Linked DNA regions of Homo sapiens: regions 2, 3, 4, 5 and 6 are each linked to region 1. Evidence: promoter capture Hi-C in human tissues and cell types (Jung and others, 2019). All regions are on one chromosome and are shown on one strand. The core of a region is centred on a gene start or on the middle of the fragment in contact, and the rest is flanking DNA. Distances in the headings are between cores, read along the strand shown. Region 1 holds the start of GDNF (glial cell derived neurotrophic factor). Region 2 overlaps WDR70 (WD repeat domain 70). Region 3 overlaps LINC02107 (long intergenic non-protein coding RNA 2107). Region 4 overlaps LINC02107 (long intergenic non-protein coding RNA 2107). Region 5 has its middle 33 kb from the start of LINC02110. Region 6 overlaps WDR70 (WD repeat domain 70).

What was found. The method cuts DNA at HindIII sites, captures the fragments that hold promoters and counts their contacts. A contact is called where the count stands out against the background at its distance.
Region 2: a fragment that was not itself captured here is called in contact with the fragment with the promoter of GDNF in region 1 in 1 of the 25 tissues and cell types used here (IMR-90 fibroblasts).
Region 3: a contact is called between a fragment that was not itself captured here and the fragment with the promoter of GDNF in region 1, in 1 of the 25 tissues and cell types used here (IMR-90 fibroblasts).
Region 4: a contact is called between a fragment that was not itself captured here and the fragment with the promoter of GDNF in region 1, in 2 of the 25 tissues and cell types used here (H1 embryonic stem cells and IMR-90 fibroblasts).
Region 5: a fragment that was not itself captured here is called in contact with the fragment with the promoter of GDNF in region 1 in 1 of the 25 tissues and cell types used here (mesenchymal stem cells).
Region 6: a contact is called between a fragment that was not itself captured here and the fragment with the promoter of GDNF in region 1, in 1 of the 25 tissues and cell types used here (IMR-90 fibroblasts).

What each region holds. Positions count from the first base shown.
Region 1 is chr5:37,838,073-37,841,296 of GRCh38, reverse strand. GDNF (glial cell derived neurotrophic factor) reads left to right here and starts at 1,256. Exons shown (of 3, transcript NM_000514.4): 1 at 1,256-1,790. It overlaps GDNF-AS1 (GDNF antisense RNA 1), which reads right to left and starts at 1,413. Exons shown (of 4, transcript NR_145476.1): 1 at 1,259-1,413. RefSeq lists an enhancer at 1,395-2,332. The HindIII fragment of the contact is 15,271 bases long and covers 1-3,224 here.
Region 2 is chr5:37,663,145-37,666,489 of GRCh38, reverse strand. The region is part of intron 10 of WDR70 (WD repeat domain 70); the gene reads right to left. Among named protein-coding and RNA genes, the nearest start is that of GDNF-AS1, 180 kb to the left of the region's middle. RefSeq lists a silencer at 429-723. The HindIII fragment of the contact is 3,863 bases long and covers 1-3,345 here.
Region 3 is chr5:38,028,824-38,032,017 of GRCh38, reverse strand. LINC02107 (long intergenic non-protein coding RNA 2107) reads right to left here. Exons shown (of 3, transcript NR_147009.1): 2 at 2,962-3,131. Among named protein-coding and RNA genes, the nearest start is that of LINC02107, 4.7 kb to the right of the region's middle. The HindIII fragment of the contact is 3,779 bases long and covers 1-3,194 here.
Region 4 is chr5:38,069,724-38,073,163 of GRCh38, reverse strand. All of the region lies in intron 2 of LINC02107 (long intergenic non-protein coding RNA 2107), which reads right to left. Among named protein-coding and RNA genes, the nearest start is that of LINC02107, 46 kb to the right of the region's middle. The HindIII fragment of the contact is 4,321 bases long and covers 1-3,440 here.
Region 5 is chr5:37,979,696-37,983,065 of GRCh38, reverse strand. No RefSeq gene overlaps it. Among named protein-coding and RNA genes, the nearest start is that of LINC02110, 33 kb to the right of the region's middle. The HindIII fragment of the contact is 3,548 bases long and covers 1-3,038 here.
Region 6 is chr5:37,607,294-37,610,593 of GRCh38, reverse strand. The region is part of intron 10 of WDR70 (WD repeat domain 70); the gene reads right to left. Among named protein-coding and RNA genes, the nearest start is that of WDR70, 230 kb to the right of the region's middle. The HindIII fragment of the contact is 4,194 bases long and covers 1-3,300 here.

The DNA of each region.
Region 1 (3,224 bases), core at 7-2,506:
ACAGGTTTCTGCTTAGCAAAGACATGCCCTATTTAGTACATTATTTTAGAGGTACAGCCAATTCCATGCCCCATGTGAATGAAATGTATTTATGGTTATAGCCATGCACAGGGTGTGTAAGGACTTGCCCTCCTCCTGTCCTCTACAAAAGAAGGCTCAGGCAGCTTCTGGTGGTGAACTAACCAACAAAAGGAATGCCCAGAAGGTCTCACCTCTCCCATCCACAGAGCTCTGGAATGGGGGCCGGGCCCCTGATCGCTGGAAACTCAGCATCCAAGTGGGCGCTTGCTGAAGTTTCCCATCTGCATTTTCGAAAATCTGGATAAAAGCAGGTTTAGCTCAACCTCCCCTAACCCGTTCCTGATAAAGTGATCTTACGCCTCTGGAATTGGGATTTTGAATGTATGTGCCTGCCCCATGTCTGGTATTAGATTACAACAGCATGAAAATGGAGCCTAGGACTGAGGAGCCGGCCAGCCTCAGAAGCCTTCTTCATTGCCTGCCATGTAATACATGATATGCAAAGCCTCTGACTTCAGCCAGCAGATATTTGGAGACCGTGTTGGCCTTAGCATGGGGACTAAACTAATGTGTGTTTAGGTCAGAAAGCGAATCAGAAAAGCCACTGGAGGGCACGTCACGGAGTGAGAGCCCTATAAATTCATCCCCACTCGCAGCGTCCCCTGGCAAATACTCGGCTTCCCTCACCCGGCCGCTCCGCACCTCTCCTTCTCGGTGCTAGAACTCCGGCCGGCAGCTCCTTTTCTCGCCACTGCCTCCTGCCCTGCGGAGAAGCGAGAGGGCGAGACACCCGAGCGGGAAGGCCGGCCTTCGACAGGCGCGAGGAAAGCCCGGCGCTGCCCTGCACCGGCAGAGCGCCACCCTCCCAGTGCGGCGCGCGGGGGCAAAGCCCGGCGCGGGCGCCGCGGTCAAGTTCGGATTGCCCCTTTCGGCTGGCCCGCGCAGAGCGCCGCACATTCCTCTCGATTTTTGATCCACCCGGAGAGGAGAAGGCGCTAGCCCCGCGGCGTCTCCGCGCTCTCAGCGCTCTCCCTGCAGCCCAGGGAGGGGCGCCTCGCGTCGCCCACTCGCACCCCGGCCCCCCGCCTCGGGAACTCCAGGGCCTCCTCGCTGCTCTCCTCTCCTCCCCCACCGCCAGGCCCAGCCGACGCCTCCCGACCCCTCCCTCCCGGGGCCCCGCGCCTCCCCTCCCCCACCCCGGACCCCGGACCCCCAGCCCGGGCTCTAGAAGACCAGCCTGCGCTCCTGGCGCCCTCATGTCTTCACGGGACTCCCCGCGCCGGTTGACGTGGTGTCTCGTTCGGATCTCCAGGCAAGACCTCAGCTCCGGCAGCAGCATCAGACAAACCAGTCTCGTGCTCCCAGGCAGTGCGCCCAGAGGAGGCGCAGAGCGCGGCAGCTGCCGCTGAGCCGCCCGCAGCGCCCCGGGCCCGCGCAGCCCCAGCCAAGAGCGCGACGCGCGCAGCCCTGTCAGCCCCCCACCCAAAGCAGCGGCGGCTGCTCGGACCTCGGCTTCTGGGGGTGCGGGGGCCCGGCGGGAGAGTTGCCGGCAGCCCTCGCCCTGTTGGCGGCGGCGGCGGCGGGAGTCTTGGCCGCCGCCTCCAGCGCGCCCTTGCTGCCCCGCGCGACCCCAGGATTGCGAACTCTTGCCCCTGACCTGTTGGGCGGGGCTCCGCGCTCCAGCCATCAGCCCGGATGGGTCTCCTGGCTGGGACTTGGGGCACCTGGAGTTAATGTCCAACCTAGGGTCTGCGGAGACCCGATCCGAGGTAAGTGAGGGAGCGGGCCGGGGAGCAGGGAGCGGGTGGTGCCTGCGTCGCGGGTGGGTGCGGCCGGCTGAAGGGCGCCCTAGTCAGAGGGGTGCGTCTGGACCCCAGAGCAAACGGTGAGAGTAGAAAGTGGAAAGACTAGAGGGAACCTAAGCTATGCGAGGAGAGAGAAAAGTAGAACCGGAGAGAGGCCGGCCTTTCGGAGGGGCATGTTGCCTTTTCCACGTGGGCAAAGATCTGTGGAGCCCCAGATGCGCCTGGACCCGGAATGCCCAAGAGGGGCAGTTTCCTTCCCCGACTCGGCCAGGTGCTCTTCCGTCAAGTCACAGAACGATTCAGGGCTTGGGTCATCTTCGAACCCACCGCCGTCGAAATGTGTCCTCTCTGGACGTGCAGAGATACTATCATTGCCAAGAGTGCAACTTACTATTGAGCTTGTTTTGATCTGTGCCAAGGAAAAGCGCAGGCCGGGGGAGGGGCTGCTGCAAAGGTGCTGAGAACCTAAAAATGGAGGGCTCACCTCCTCCGGGCGAGGTCTGGCAAAGCTACATTCCTCACCCGGTTGCCTGCACGTTCCTAACGCCCTCCACCCCAACTAACCATCCCCGTCGAGGTTAGGAGAGGGGCTTTCTTGCCAGTCCTGGATTCAAATCTCTGTCTCGAACGTATTCTTGAGACTCCACTAGGCCATTGAGGTTATTATTTTAATGACCCCTTTTTCTCCTGTACTCTGTGCCGCCTTCCAAAAACACCCCACCACCACTGCCACTACTTTACACCACCTCGAGGCTAATTCCGCACTGGTGGTTTGTTTCCTGCCCCAACGAAGAAAAACGAACCCTCTTCGGGCTGGAAACGGACTTTCGCGGGTTCCCGCCAGCTTCCTGGGGCCCAGCTAGTTTCGGCTTTGGTAGAATCCGCCGCCAGGACCCATGTGCGCGCCCCCGGGGGGCTTACCCATCCCAGAGCTCGCGACCCTTCTGCTCATAGGCGGGGACAAAGGCAACTCTTCCGGCCCCTGCTGCGGAGATGTTAGAACGCGCTCGACTCTTGCTCAGTGTTTGGAATATATGCTTAGGTATTTCAAGGAAGAGATGTTTCTTCCAACCTCATTCACGCACCCAGTCCCGCAAAGCCGTCAAAGCCGGCCTCGACCAAACTCGTACTGTTTCGCTGCGCCTTCGCTTTGTCAGGGAAGGTGGCGCCTTTTCAACAAGTAACAAGTGTCCGATCTCTGGGAAGTCCGCCGTGTCCCTAGCCCTTTCCCGCTAGCAATTCGGGTGCTCTCGGGCCTGGAACCTGGCCCTTTAAACAGACCGCTTTCCCAGTTTGCCTGCGAGAAGTGTCCCAAATTCTTTTTCCTTCCCTCATCTTGGGCCCCGCAGTTATGGGGGGTTGAGGGGAGAATAAGTCCTCTGTCAGTCAAGGACACGA
Region 2 (3,345 bases), core at 217-2,716, 180 kb after region 1:
TCAGGCCATAGCTAAACTGAGTCCATAAGCACAAGCTGATTGGCCTTTATTCAAGATCACACCAAGAGTCCCTAAAGTAATTTAAAACTTGGCAAATAGCACAGTTACTAACTGGCAATAAGGAAAACACACTCGCTGCTGTAGATCTCCTTAGTTGCCCTTTATATGATATCACCTTTTCTTCTTTATCTTTAACTCCTAAGTCTGGGGTAACAGGAGTTGGGGATCTTAGGCTGTCTATGTCACATAAGAAACACAAGTGTGAACACAAGTGCAGATCCCAATTCAGCTTTTAATTGAAGAGGAAAGCCACCATGCCAACACCGGAAGCACAGCGCCGTGGAATGACCTGCCTAGACGGGAGGGAAAGCCCGGCGGTGCCCCCCTTTGAAGTCCAGCTGCCTGAGATTCACTGGCAGCCGACCTTCAAAGAGAGCCGATGCTTCCTTCCCTCAGCCTGGCTGCCAAGCTTCCCGGGCAGCTGGGCAGATTTAGCCACTCTCTCCCCAGCTGTCTGTGAACGCTGGCAGCCAGTTCAAGTGACGGATAGAGAGGTGGTAAGGAAGGGAGGGTGAGGAAGCAGAGGAGAGGGTGGCGGGCCCAGTGGCGCCAGGGAAAAGAGGATGCTGGGTTTCCTTGGAGCTGACCTTATCAAAGTCAGTCAAAAAGACAAAGCTTCCAAAGGGAGTACAATCCAACTATACGACAAAGCAACTTTCCAGAGAACAGGGAGATTTCAAATACACTTTCCTTCAAAAGCTGAGTGAATCTGAAATGTACTCATCTAAAGATAACCCAATTGCTGCAGAAAATAGTCCTATCTCTACATAGGGATGTGAGAAACAAAGTCAAGGTCAAGCATCAAAATGTACAAATTTTTGACTGATTTTTATTTTCCAGCAGCATGAGTTCACACTTCTTAGAGACTTTTGGGGGTTGTTTGCTGACTTTGTTGTGGCAACCCTTCTGTTCCCCTGGCAGCCAATTGCTGAAACAACTTATCTGTTTCTGCGCCTGTGCAGCAGATGCTTGGACAAGACTGGCTTATTTAACATAAACATTACCAATGTGCTGTTATGTTTATCCTGTTGAACCCACATGCTTGGAGTAGGGAATAGTGAGTGTTATCAGCTGCAGGTACAAAGGGGATGCAGAGCAGTTCTGTAAGTGACCACAAACTCTCAAAAGAAGTCTACTCAATAACAAGACTTCAAATTTGGTAAAGTAGGAGACAAAGTGATGAGAATATAGGTGAATGGAAAGAAGAACTGAAGAGGTATAAAGAGAAAAGTAAATCATCAGATTTTCATTGTATATGAAGTCCTCTGGCAGCTATATGGCAATGAAGGAAAGATAGATTAGAAGCCAAGGAGAAAAAGGATCATACATCTCAGGAAATCTTTTCTCTGTTTAGTACAATTTGACTAAAAAAGGAATGCATGGATGAGCTGGTACACTTGACAATATGAACAAAAGACCTACATATTCGTACAGACCATCTTATTAAGTCACTAGCTACAAATTTATCTTCCCTATTCTTTAGATTGCCTTGAAACTGTATGACACAGCATCCAGCACTAAGTTCAGTGATACTAAACACATCCAATCCAAAACTTATTATCTAAATTTAAAAGTATAATGCTGATCTTATAGAAGAACAACCAATTAATATTTGCTAAAATTCACTCATTCTACAAACATTTAGGAGCCCTTGTTATGTGCAAGGCACTATGCCAGGTGTGGCAGATGTCAAGATCGGTTAAATGGCTCCTTACCCAACAATGAGATCTGTCTAGAAAGGGAGGCAAACATTCAAAACAAATATCTACAATAAATTGTACAAAAAAATGGCAATATCCATAAACTGTATAGTAAAAACACCAAGAAAAGGTCAACTTTATCATGGTAGTATAATATTAATAGGTTCAGAAGGAATAGAAGATGGGAAAAGAAGTCAGGTAAAGCCTGGTGAGGATGCTGGATCACAGTCTTTGAAAGTTAAGGAGGAGATCTCTAGGGATACAAGGAAATACTACTCCACTAGAGGACACTGAATAGAAAAGTCTTAGAAGTGTGAAATAGCACCTTACTTTTGGATCTATAGGTAGGACTCAATAACAGACCAGGAGCAGATAAAACTGGAGAGCCAGAGATCAAACCATTAGTGGCTTCATATGCCCTTCTATGGAGTTTAATTTTTCAACTTGTGGGTAATGTTGATTTTTTGAAGGGATTTAAGGACAGAGGAGTAATATTGTCATAAGAGTATTTTAAAAGATCACCCTGCAGTGGTGGGAAAGATGAATTGGAAAAAGGAAGACTGAAGACAGGGAGGATGAGTCAAGAAACATCTGCAGTGTTCTAGGTGAGGGCTTGAGCTGTGTCATTAATGGAGGAGTAGGTAAGACAGCAATTTAAATTGCAGTCGGTGGCTTTGGTATGGGCAGTTCCAGCTAATTTGTGAAGTGGATGTTGCAAATATAGTCTACTCTGGGTAGAAACCTGGCAATAAAAAAAGTTAGAGTTGGAGAAAGCTTTTGTTAAATAAAATAAATAAAAAGCAGAAACTTGAGCATATTTTCTAGGAGCCAGTAGGGATGAAAAGGATAAAAATACAGGAAAGGGAGTAACTGATAGAATTAGGGCTCAAAGGAAGCAGGAAGGACATAATCAGGCACGCAGGTGGAAGGATTAGTGGGGAACTACAAGAGAAAGACCTCTTCCTTGGCGACTGCAGGGAAGGAGGCTGAGAGACCACAGCAGTATGCGCACAGAGATACATACAAGGGCACAAAGTCTACCAGAAGTCCGGCCTATTGTCCCTATTTTTCCAAGTAAATGAGAGGAGATAATTGAGTAGGAAATGGGGGTTGTAACGTAAACCAGAGAAGAGTTGGGGAAGTTTGAAAACACCCAATGAGATGAATGACAAGAATTAACTGGACATAGAAAAAAAGAGACTGCCAAGGCCAGGAAGGCCCAAAAGAAAATAAAAATCATAAATCTGGAATGGCACTACCCTGCAAAACTGTGGGCTTTTTTTCAGGTCGGACTTAAGAGCCAGAGCAAGGAAGCAAGGAAATCATATTACTGGGATAGTCGAGTAGAAAACAGAAAATAAAGCACAGTTTAAAATCTTGGTAAAATATGTATTACAGAAATCAAATAATCCTTTGCCTTTTCTCCGAGTACTATGTTCTGGAGTTAACTGGTTTAAATTTGCATTTTTGGCTCAAAAGTCAAAACCGCAGTCAGTATAATGCAACTTTAACTTTTGTAATGCTCTATTACAAAACTAAAACCATTTTCCCTTTTTAAAATCACTTTGTTAAAGAAAGTGCCCTC
Region 3 (3,194 bases), core at 114-2,613, 190 kb before region 1:
GAAGCACTATCTTTCTAAATCTTAATTTAATTGGAAAAGAGAGAGCTGAGATTTTTAAATTCAGGGCAGAGGCAGACTCATTCATTACCACTTCAAGGTCCAGGATTTGGGCTGATGAGCAAATAGATCAATCATATTGGGAGGTGTTCTGTACCTTCCTCTGTTATAACTCTAATTCCCACAGTCAAAAATATACATTCAGGAATAAACAGGCTGGTTCTCTCCAGTGTCTTCTCAACTGATAGTTCGTAACTGGTATGATAGTTAAATTCACGTGGAGAAGGATGCAGATTCATTTGCCAGACACAACCAAGACAGGGCCAACACCAGCAGGGGCTTCTAGAACTAGAATGAAGTTTCCCTGCTTCAGATCAGAAGAAACTCAATTGGAGGCCCAGTCATGTGTCTTATACAAGTGCCTAACAACATACATAAAATCCCAGAGAGCTGTGTATCTAAGTGAGCCAACACTAGTTCACAAGCAGCAATGCAAAACCCCTTTCTTCCTCTGCCCCGTGGCAAAAAGTAGGTCTGTTCCATTTGTTTACAACCATTGCTGTTACTTTCCAGCATAACCATAATCTTATTTTGTAAATCCTATTCCTGACACACCTCAAACCATCTGCCCATTCTTTCTTGGGTTAGCTTGGGGCTGTTTGGCAAATGTCTGTCATTACCTGTAAGTGGAATATTTTTTAACAGAGTACATGCCCCTTGTAAAGGCATGTTGCCATGGCTGCTAGGTGCTCTGAAAAATCTCCTTTGGTTTTTTTCTTGAAATCCAATATGGCTTTAGTAATTTTTAATATGTGTAGAATTAAGAAGAGACAAAGAGGCATAAATACAACCCATTAGGCTTCAGATTCAAAATAAGTTTGTACACGCTCTCAGTCAAATACAAGGAATTGGCTAAAATTTTATTAATAAAAGTATATTTGTCAGTTTGAAGGAAGAGAAGACTTAGCCTATGTTTCAGATTCAGACTTGCAAACAGTTTTGAGGGGAACAAGTGATATAGTCTGAGCCGTAGAACTTCCACCATTTCTTGTCCCCATGGAGTGGGACCAGGGTTCTCAGCAAGTCACTACAATCTGTCTTTGCTTCATTATTTTGACATCTTCTCCTTATTTAAACTACAAGGTGCTGAGAAAGACCCAGAACCCCAAACTGGATGAAGGATATGTGATAGGCAATTCACGGAGCACAGATACAAATGGACAAAAGTGAGAAAAAATATCTCACCTTATTAGTAATCAAGAAAATAATAGAATAAAATAACAAGGTCACTGTTAGCCTCTAAAACGGCAAAGATTAAAAACAATGAAAATATGTAGTGAGGGTGTGGGGAAATGTTCACTCTTAAGCACTGCTGAAGAAAGCAGAAATTCATACAACTCTCCTGGAGTCACTTTGGTAGTATCTAGCAAAATTTTTCTAGTACCTACCTTTGGCTACACTTCATGTATATACACACACACACACACACACACACAGACACACACACAGACACACTCATGTGAATTTAAAAATTATTTATAGTGGCATTACTTGTAAAAGCCAAAAATTAGAATTAGCCTATCAAAAGAGAAATGGTTACATAAACTCTGGTTTACCTACCCAATGGACTAGTTTATCTACCCAATACACTGCCATTAAAAAGAATGAGACAGTTCAACATCTTCCGATATGAAAAGACTGATATATTGACAATTAAGACAGCAACTTACAGAATATTAATATGTTCCAACTTATGGAAAAACAATGATTTACCTAGGTCTATAACAAAATGTGAAAAGGAGACTCTTTTTCAGCTTTGTCTAAGGCCCCAGAAGACCCAGAACAAAGCAAGAGGCAATTAGTGGTCTCACATTTTAAAATGAGTTTCTAGACCACCTAGACAGGACTTGCAAAGGAGACAACTGCAACCATTAGCCCATCACTCGCCTCAAGGCTATAAAAGGACTGAAACTGAAAATGCTGAAAGAATTCCTTTGGAATGATTTTTCAGGGTGTGGTGGTGTTTCCACCTTTACCTCTTTCTAAGTAAGAGAGGTTTCAAGGAGATCTCCCTGAATGCTGGAGTCTGCCAAGTGTAGACTGGCACTTGATTCAAGACCAAAGATCGTCTACTAGCAAGAGGCTGCAAATTGCGTGCGGAGGCCCAGGCACTGAGAGAGCTGCAGTGCAGCAGACAGGCCCAGGTACTGAGAGAGCTGCAGTGCAGCAGACTGCACATCTCCCAGCAGCAGGAGCCAGAGTGCATCAGTCTTGCCCTTAGGCCATATGCAAGGGAGCCAGCCAGGATGGTCTTGAAAAGGGCCCCACCTGTAGAGAGGTTGACAACACTCCACCCATAACCTTCCTATCTCTTGATCACATTCACACACACACACCTACTGGGTGGAGGGCAAGCTTTTACTCTCCCCAGCCAGCACCTGCATCTGTCAGCGGCTGCCCACAAGCCGCGGGAACCCACTAGATGCACCAAGAGCCAGAGTGCCTGGGGTGATGGGTGGGACTTGAAGGGACTGGAAGAGTTGTTATTCTACATGATTGTCCAAGAGTGTGAGAATGAATCTGCATATTATAGTTATAGAGACAGCAAGGGGAAACTGTTTTCTACCTGTACTGTATGGAATCTCATGCTTTCAATATGATGTTAACAATTACACAGGTAAAACAGAGAAAAGGTCTGGAAATTTACACACAAACCAATTATGATCTCTAGAAAGCAGAGTGTGGTTAGAGGATGAATAAAAAAAACTTATGTATTTTACTCTATACACTTCTTTATAGCTTGATTTTTTAAAAAAACAAACATATGTACTTATCTCTTTTGTAAACAAAAACTTAAAATACACACACACATACACACATATACTCACTGTATAAAAATTCAGAAAAGTAAGAAAAAGAAAACAAACAGACCATAAATGTAATTCCACTCCTCCCAGATCTCACCTCTGTTAGTATTTGATGAGTTTTTATTCACATCTTTTTTATGTAATTTGCTTGGAGCAGACAGGGCCTCATTGGGCATCACCAACAGTCAAGTTAAACAAGCAAGAACTTCAAGGATTGTTTACTGCTGCCACTCATATATTCCATGGGTATTTTGACCATATGAAAATCTGGGTATAGGAACAAAGAAAACCAATTTGATACTTATGAGTCTGTCTCCCTTAGCTCCCTTA
Region 4 (3,440 bases), core at 63-2,562, 230 kb before region 1:
CATTTTATAACAAGTGAATATTGGAGAGATTTCAATGTGGGGGTATCTGTGCTAGCAACAGCCAACGCAAAACTTTTTGTTGTATTTGAATTGTCCTGTTTTATTTACAAAGTATTTCATATACCCCTTCTCAATTGATTTAATTCTATCTGCAATTGTCTTCATTTTAGAGACAAATCAGAGATAACTGAGCAATAGCAACATTATTGGAAGAAATGTATGCTTTCTATCAGGCTGCACGTAAAGCACTACAGATAGAATACACAGTGCAGGATCTGTAGTGTTGGTTTCAAGGAAGTCTCAAAATACATACCAATAAAAACAGTAATCGCAGCCTCTAATACTTCCTGAGCCAGGCACCAACGTAGGTAATTTTCATACATTAATTCATTTAATCCTCATGTCAATGCTCAGGTTGATGCCCAAGGTAGTGGTCATTAGTTTCCCTGTTTCACAGACAATCTGAAATTAACGGGCTGAAAATTATCTGTTATACAATATTAGAGCTGCAAATAACTTTAAAGATCAACCCTCCCCCTTTTACAGATGAAGTAAATGTTTATGCGTTCTAGGCCACTTAAAGGTTTTGTTATTTTTGAGCACAATCCCCAAATTAGTCATATATAACCTGATTTTGCTAGTAGTGAGTTCCGATTCCTGTGACCTCCAGCCCAGCTATGTCGTATAAGGGAAGTGACACCTACTATAATAATCTCAAACCCCGTAATCCATCATACATACTTTGAAAGCACTAAAGGAAAATGTGTTACAATAACCAAACACACCTAGTGTATATCACAAGGCTTGCCTAAATATTTCCAATTTATGCTATTTTGAGAACTGGCGTCTAGCCCAGTTCCAACAACAGTGTCCAAGATTAAGTGAAAGACCATGTGAGTATGGTAATTGAAAATATAATTTTCCCCCCAAAGGGCTATTAGTTATGAATTTACTCACTCGTGTGTGTGAAATCTCCTTTTGAACAACTATGAAATGTGGATTCTACAGTTGTCTCACTTACTGGAAAAAAATGTGCATCTTATTAGGTTTCTAGAGGACAATGGTACGTCAAATCTAATCAGCCTTCCCTTGGAAGATTCTGCAGGAGCTAGGAGCCTCTCCTCAGACTGCCTCTCCCATAGCAACCGTCTTGCTCTTGGCAAAGGCATAGAGACTTTGTTGTGCTCAACCCTGTAACATTAATAAGCTAAGGGCCCTAGACAACAGCAGTTACCACAGAGCCATTTCAAAGCTGGCTTGAGGGGCACCAGGAGCTCAGTTCCTGGACACAATCCCACTGTGTTTTGGTATAACAGCCATTGGTGGCATAGCCTTATTTTTGGGTATAGCCTATCTTGGGACCAAACCCATTGGCCAATGACAACCAGATGCATTCATTTGGCTAAAACATTCTGAGCAGAATGGTACTCAAATTTCGATGATTTGAATGGATTCATCTTCCTTCCCACTCCTGCATGCTTCTGCATTGAGTCTAAAGCTTAAAGCAAAGGAGAATGCTTTGGATGTGACCTTTTCCCAAGATCTGACAGCTGGTCTAGATCTAGTCAATTGCAGCTTTTAATTAATATACTCTATACTCCCCACATAAATTAAGAAAAATAACAATGTACCAAAGAACTGGAAAGAAGGTTTCTGAGTTCTTTTAAATTGTGCCCAAAGGTTTCTAATACTAATTTCAAAGAAGGAAAGGATCTCGGTCTAAAGTTACTGAGTGTGTATGCCGAACAAATTCACTGGATAGTATTTGTGCTCCGAATTTTTCCAATTAAAATTATTTACCCTTAATGCTTCAAATAAAGTTATAACTTGGATTTCAATCCACAGCCATTCCATAACTCCATCAGCAGAAGCATAATATCATGTATTGTCATAATTCAATGCACTTTCACAGTTATGGAGTAACTGATTCAACTAGTTGTTCACTTCATTATTTTATCCATTTATGAGTTAAGCCAGGAACATAGCAACACCATGTCTATGTTCAGCCTCCTATGTCCTGCCCAAACTTTCACCTGTCTCCATACGGTTAGGGACTAAACAAAGGGGTAAACTTCAAGTAAACACAGACGATATTTATTAAGTTTCTTCCAAGCTGTATGTTCCTAGAGGTTATCACAAAGACTCCTCTAGTGGCAACTGGCTTGCAGAACTGATCCAGCAACATCTCAACAATTCTTTCCTGAAGCCCAACTGCATACTCAAAGCTCAGATCCACGCTCACTAGGAACAATTTTGGAAAACAAGGAGTTGATCACCATTTTCGCTTTGCTTTGCTTTGTTTTTGAAACTGTACAGACATGGCCAGAATTTGAACTTGCACTGCCTGGATCAGACCATGAATAACTAACTGCCTTAACTGGAAAGATTTGCCAGACCCCAAGAGCCTCATCCCCTGTCTGCTTCCACCCCAAGAAAGGCTGTGCTTCCTTCCAATGAACAGCCTAACACAATTTGGCAATGACTTTTCCTGCATTTTTTGGCAGAGAATATGGAAAGGAATATATATGGAAAATAATGTATGTGTGCATGTGTGTGTATGTGTGCGTGTGTGTATTGCATGTGTGTGTGCATGTGTGTATGTGTGTATGTCTGTGCATGTGTGTGTGCGTGTGTGTGCATGTGTATGCATGTGTGTATGTTCATGTGTGTGCATGTGTGTATGTGCATGTGTGTATGCATGTGTGCATGTGTGTATGCATGTGTGTGCATGTGTGTGCATGTGTGTGTGCATGTGTGTGCGTGTGTGTGTGGGCGTGCATGTAGTAGTCTTTTTTTCCTCCTGTGATTTTTCTACCTCTAAGCTTTCCAGTATAGAGTAGGATTGAGTAGTACTAACCATTCTGGTGCTATTTATTTGCTAGGTTCTAGGATTTCCCTATAAATTGGGGCTTCAGGGCTTATCTCCAACTAATAAGCTTCTTTTTTTTTTTTTTTAATTATTCTGCCAATGAGGCTTGAAGCAATCACACAGCACAGGGGCACATTCTTGAAGGAGAAATTTGGGCCTTTCCTCTTAATTCTATAATTGTTCAGAATGAGGGTGTGGTGAATGGACACTACAAGGAAAGTTTGGCCTAAAAATGAGAAGACAGAGGGAAGGAAGTAAACACTGACCTGGAGGTAGATTTAGACTAGGATTAGCAGCTGTCCCTTCTCCTTTGATGAAAGGGCTTAACTAACGGCAAGAGGAATTGAGGATACATCTTGGGGAAAACTTCCTGACTCGCATAAGGCCTGGCAATGTTTCACCAAAGGGGATTGCCCAGTGTACCTCTCTGAGGATTTTTATTTTTTAATGTGATGTTTTTGTAAATTTGCTTTTTGTTGTTGCTGTTGTTATTCATCGTAAATTATAGACGATTTAAACTTTCCTGTTTTTTCTTCATTACCCAAGTAATGCATGTTTATTATAGAAAAAC
Region 5 (3,370 bases), core at 15-2,514, 140 kb before region 1:
CTTGAACCCAGTGGGCAGAGGCTGCAGTGAGCCAAGATCACGCCACTGCACTCCAGCCTGGGCAACGCAGCGAAACTCCGTTCAAACAAACAAACAAACAAAAAAACACAGTAACCAGCAGGGTGTGGTGGCTCACGCCTGTAATCCCAGCACTTTGGGAGGCCAAGGCAGGTAGATCATCTGAGGTCAGGAGTTCAAGGCCAGCCTGGCCAACATAGTGAAACCTTGTCCCTACCAAAAATACAAAAATTAGCCAGGCATGATGGCGGGCGCCTGTAGTCCCAGCTACTCCAGAGGCTGAGGCAGGAGAATTGCTTGAACCCAGGAGGTGAAGTTTGCAGTTAGCCACGATCACGCCACTACACACTCCAGCCTGGGCAACAGAGTAAGTCTCCGTCTCAAAAAAAAAAAAATTATAAAAGGTCTGTGATGAAGAAGCTACCTCTCCTTCCATTAAATACTTTGAGTCATTCTTCTCAAAACAGTCTTAGAATGGAAACTCTTGGTGTTTTATACTTGGTTTTGTCCAATATGAAAGATATCCTAGCTACAGTGATAGAACTGGAAATGGTGGAATTTGGCCACAGGGTAGAAATGAAGCGGGAAAAGGGAAAGGACAATACTATGATCATTCTTATTATACAGAAGGAATTTTACAGGAGAAAAGATGAATAACTAGCCAAAGACATACAGCATTTCAGAAGTAAAGCTGAAGTGTAATGTGCTTCAATTTCCAGCACTGTCTCTATTTTGTCTGAACCGGGCTTACATTTTTCAACATCAGAGCCTTAACACCTAGTGTCTAGCAACACCCAGGGCCTGCCACTCCCAGCAATACCTAGCAGCACTTAACCATGACAGGTACTCAATAAGTGCTTGTACATGAATAATCTTAAGAAAGGTCAGGAGATCGAGACCACGGTGAAACCCCGTCTCTACTAAAAATACAAAAAATTAGTTGGGCGCAGTGGCGGGTGCCTGTAGTCCCAGCTACTCAGGAGGCTGAGGCAGGAGAATGGCGTGAACCCGGGAGGCGGAGCTTGCAGCAAGCCAAGATCGCGCCACTGCACTCCAGCCTGGGTGACAGAGAGAGACTCCGTCTCAAAAAAAAAAAAAGAAAGAAAGAAAAGTCAAATTAAAATTATGTGGTAGCTCAGAATCCATCCTTTAACCAAAACCTAATAAAATATTTACACCAAAAGGGAGATATCCTGTTTCAAAGTAGGAAAAGATTAGATGTTTTGTTCCAAACTAGCAAGAAACATTCAAGTAAGTTCCTCTACTCCTACCCAAACATTATCTTACGATATTTTTTTCCTGATCATGTTTTTTCCCTGGGACAATTTGCTATCCATTCTCAAAAGCAACTCTCCAAATAAAATAGATTTCATCATGACTCAAACTTACAACATTTTTTTTAGTAAACACCAGATAAACACTAGGAGAGCTAATACTTTGTTGCCAAACAACCAAACAGATGTGATCCCTACCACTTCCTACCTTTCCAAAAGACGTGATTAATGGATAATTATAGGAATATTCTAATTCTTGTTGAAAAGCTTGATCGATTTATTGGTGCTTGTGGCCAAACAATAACCACGTCCATGTTTCAAATCACTGTAGATGACCAGAATCTGGGGCTCATCATGACTCTATACTTTGCTATAAGACTGGTGCCAAGAAAATTTCTTTCCAGCTCAGTAATCCTTCTTCCTTTCTCGATAAATTCTACATAGCTTTCCCTTTGCTCCTGCCTTGGGGTAAGATTTCTTGCAGCAGCCATGTAAAATGACTTCTGTCTTTGGAAGATTTCTTAGAAAACACATTGTCTCTGATCCCCACCCTTTGAAAATTTCCACTGTTTACCCAAACAATACCTTCCACAGAATTCTCAGCGTAGCATCAATGCCCCCAGGAAGGTCTTGCAGATCCTTTTGTCGCTAGACTAGGTTAGGTTCTCCTGCCCTGTGTTCTTACAGTACTTTGTTTCCCCAATACAACATCTTCACACTTTATTTTAAATTTCTATTTAATTGTCTATCTTTCCAACTGGACTATAAGACTATGAGGAAAACAGCAGGCCCTCGGTACCTGGTGATTGTTAAATAAATGATAACTTCCAAATTTTATCAGGCCTTATAGTTCCAATCTCATTCCTTCTCATAAAAGAAAGTGCAGAAGCCCCAGAATATGGCCACACAGCTAGAGATGTTTCCAGCTTCTCTTGCAGCTAGGCTCTCGCCAATTGGATATGAGTTGAAGACATATTTGCAACTTCCAGGTCATGTCATTAAAAAGGAAGCTTCTTCTCCACTTGCTGTTTCCCCCTTCCTAAAGGCTGCAAAGTAAACAAAATGGTGAGCCAGCTTCAACAAGGGAGATAAGGACAACAACCTAAGGCATGGCAGAACCACAAAACAAAAGAAATCTAGTTCCTGGCTAAACTTAGAGAGCAGAGCCACCTCTCCACTCTGGACTGCTCATCTGTCTATAGACTGTTACATCAGAAACACCTTTGTCACTGGGCACAGTGGCTCATGCCTATAATCCCAGCACTTTGGGAAGCCAAGCCTGGCAGATCACTTGAGCCCAGAAATTGGAGAAGAGGCTGACCAACATGACAAAACCCTGTCTCTACAAAAAATACAAAAATTTGCTGGGTGTATTGTACGTGCCTGTAGTCCCAGCTACTCAGGAGACTGAGGTGGGAGGATGGCTTTAGCCCAGGAAGTGGAGGTTGCAGTGAGCCAAGATGGCATCACTGCACTCCAGCTTTGGTGACAGAATGAGACATGAGACCCTGTCTCAAAAAAAAACAAAAACAAAAAAGAAAAAACACACATTTGTCTCTCGTTTATGCCTCTGAGTTTGGGGTCCTCTCTCACCTTTTTTTTTAAGTATGAACTTAAACCCTACCTAACAACTTACATCAATTATAAATTCCTCTAACTTAACTTTGCCTACAGAGGGGACATTTTTAAATTTCCTATTCAAGTGTCCGAGCATTTATCATTACTACCACAATGTATGTAGGAAACTTACACTTACAATTCAAATAGCTACTATCCAGCAGCAATAATGTAGTAGAATATAACCATGTTTACCAACTGCACTGGAGTAAATGGTTCGTTTTACTTAACTAATGGCTGCTGTTTTAATTTGGAATTGTATAAAAAATTTGTGCTACATAGTGCAAACTGGCAAAGTGACAAATTGTTCTTCTCAACATCATTTTGGAGCATGAAGAGTCCTTACTGTAAATAGCATATTCAACTAGGTCTAAACATTGTGCAATATCAGTTGTCCATCCCTAAGAACTTGTGAGGCTACAACTAGAAGCAGTACAATTTATTTTCATGGGGTACTTACA
Region 6 (3,300 bases), core at 163-2,662, 230 kb after region 1:
AGATGTGAACAGATACAGATATACAGATATGGAGAAAATCACAAAAGGATACCTATCAGGTAATTTACAAGCATCAAGGGATAGAGATGGGACAATGACAGAGGAGAGGAGTGGCACAGAATAAAATAATAATAAACCAAAAAACCAACTTTTTTTTTTGAAAAGCACATATTTCATGTAGGTAAAATTACAGGATCCCATTTAAATAAAGACATTTTGAAAAAAAGCAAAGAAATCAAGCTATATCTACTATTTTATGCTTTCAAATTAAAAAAACAAGCTTCAAATTCTCTCTACATAAAAACAAATTTTTTTTTTTTTTTTTTTTGAGACGGAGTCTTGCTCTGTCGCCCAGGCTGGAGCGCAGTGGCACAATCTCGGCTCACTGCAACCTCCGCCTCCCAGATTCAAGCAATTCTCCTGCATCAACCTCCCAAGTAGATGGGACTACAGGTGCCTGCCACCACGCCCAGCTAATTTTGTATTTTTAGTAGAGACAGGAGTCTTGAACTCCTGACCTTGTAATCTGCCCACCTTGGTTTCCCAAAGTGCTGGGATTGCAGGCATGGGCCACCGTGCCCAATCTATATATCTGTGAATACATGTATTAATAAGAAGAAGGATGCAGAAAGACATAAAGTAATCTTTTAACATGGGTTATCTGACAGCAACTGGAGACATTTAAAGATTTGCTGTGTGCTGGATATTTCTTTTTTCTTCATATTTGTTGTCTTACTTGCCAAAAGCTGATTTCCTGATATGATTACTGCCTCAGATTCCTCCGTTCCACTTTCTGGCATGGCTGAAAATGGGGGCACTGAACAGCCAACCGAGCTGGGGAAATCTTGCGGCTTTCTTGGTAAGGCATTGTGCTGTGTGGTGACTTTCCCAAAAGGAACAGCCCAAGAATCTGGGCAAGGGCTTGCAGGCCAAAAGGGCAATAGAAGGCAGTCAGATAGAGCAGGGGTCAAGTTGCTAGTGGTGCCTACTGCAAAATCAAACAACCTCAAATATTATTCCCTCCCATCACCTGTGTCTAGGGAGAACAAAACTCCATGAATAAGATGAATCCCAATTTTCCTGACAAAAACTTAGCCTACAAACAGTAATTGCAAGATAAGAAAACACAGTATGTTCTTTTAGTCAAGAGTCTAGTATATTGTAGATTCCTGATAGATATTAAAGAACAGCAACAGTGCTTTGTGCAAAGTCAAAGAATAAATCTGATAGGTGTTTTGATATGAAGAGAAGTTATTAGGTATTCATAAGACTATACATGCTGAATTATTTGAAAGCCCAGAATTATAAAGAGACATGAACATAGTTTTTAAAAATTTGCCTGTTATTAGCAAATCCAAAATCAGTCACATATACAGATTAATATATTTATATTAAGAATATACCAAAAACTACCCCAATACCTCTCTCCTCTCCCCCTACCCCAAAACTCGTACACATACCCAACTCTATCTCATTGTGTATTCACATAACTAGGATAGTGTTTTTATGCTACTATTCTTTAAATGTATTCTTAGAACTAAACTGACCATCTCATTTTATGTTACTATTTTAGAATACATACACATCCATTTATTCATTCAACAAATAGTTACTGAAGGTCTGCTATATACTAGGCACTGTCTTTGCTCTGGGAATACAGCAGGGAGTAGAACAGACAGCAATCCTTTCCCTCATGCAGCAAATATCCTACTAGAAGGAAACAGCCAATAAAGAGGGCCAGGTGCAGTGGCTCACGCCTGTCATACCAGCACTTGGGGAGGCTGAGGTGGGGAGACTGCTTAAGTCCAGGAGTTCAAGACCAGCCTGGGTTACATAGTGAGCCCTCCATCTCTATAAAAAACAAGAAAATTAGCTGGGCATGGTGGCGCATGCCCGTGGTCTCAGCTACTCGAGAGGCTGAAGCAGAAGGATCAACTGAGCCTAGGAGGTCAAGGCCACACAGTGAGTTGTAATCATGCCACTGCACTCTAGCCTGAGTGACAGAGTGAGAACTTGTCTCAAAAGTTAAACAAAAAAAAAAAAATAGTGAAACATACAGTACAGCAGGTCAGACAGCAATCAGCACTATGGAAGAAAATAAGAGGGGTAGAGAGTACCACTGGCAGGGAGAAGGCTGCAATTTAAATATGGTGTGGTCAGGGAAGGTCTTGCTGAGAAGAAGAAATTTCAGTCCTCTGAACTGAAAGAGATGAGAGAAAAAGCCATATGAATAGCTATAAGAGTGCTGCAGAATGGCCAGGCGTGGTGGCTCACGCCTGTAATCCTAGCACTTTGGGAGGCCAAGGCGGGCGGATCACGAGGTCAGGAGTTTGAGACCAACGTGGCCAATATGGTGAAACTCCCTCTCTACTAAAAATACAAAAATTAGCCAGGTGTGGTAGCGCATGCCTGTAGTCCCAGCTACTCTGGAGGCTGAGGCAGAAGAACCACTTGAATCCGGGAGGTGGAGGTAGCAGTGAGCCAAGATTGTGCCACTGCACTCCAGCCTGGGCGACAGAGCAAGACTCCGTCTCAAAAAAAAAAAAAAAAAAAAAGAGTGTTGCAGACTGTCAGGCTCAACATGTGCAAAATCAGGGTGCATGCTTTTACTGCTCCAATGTCATCTCCCACTATTCTTTCCCCCTCTCTCACATCATGCCAACAAGGCAATAGATGCCTTGCTGTTGCTCAAATTATGCTGGTGAATGGGAAGTAGAGAATCAAGGAGGCAGTGCAGATCCACAGAAGCTTCTCTGAAGAGGCCTTCTTCTCAAATGAAAGGCTGACCATCATCATATGAATAAAAGGAACCTTGGGCAAACAACCACTCCTCTTGAGGAGCAATGTCCAGTGAACTTTCTGCAATGATGAAAATGGTCTATATTGTCCATTAAGTAGCCACTGGTCACATGATGCTACTGGGTACCTAAAAAGTGTCCAGTGTGATTGAGAAACTGAAATTCTAATTGTATTTTATTTTAATTAAAATTAAAATAGTCAAATGTGGCTAGTGGCTAGCATATTGACCAATATAACTCTAGAGTAAACGTAGGTCTTGAGAACACAGAAATGTATCATTAATAGAGATACCTTACTTCTAAAAAGATATGTTTTGTTTAATTTACTGAAGTTCAAGTTGATCTAATGAAAATTCTAGGATTAAATGGGGCAATTATGAATGTTTTACTTAATCATCACAAAATACAGATTAACCATTATCCATCATATAATTATTTAACTACTGTTTGGAAAAACTATTGTTACTGGGCATTCTCATTTCAGCTTTAGTGTTTCCCTGTG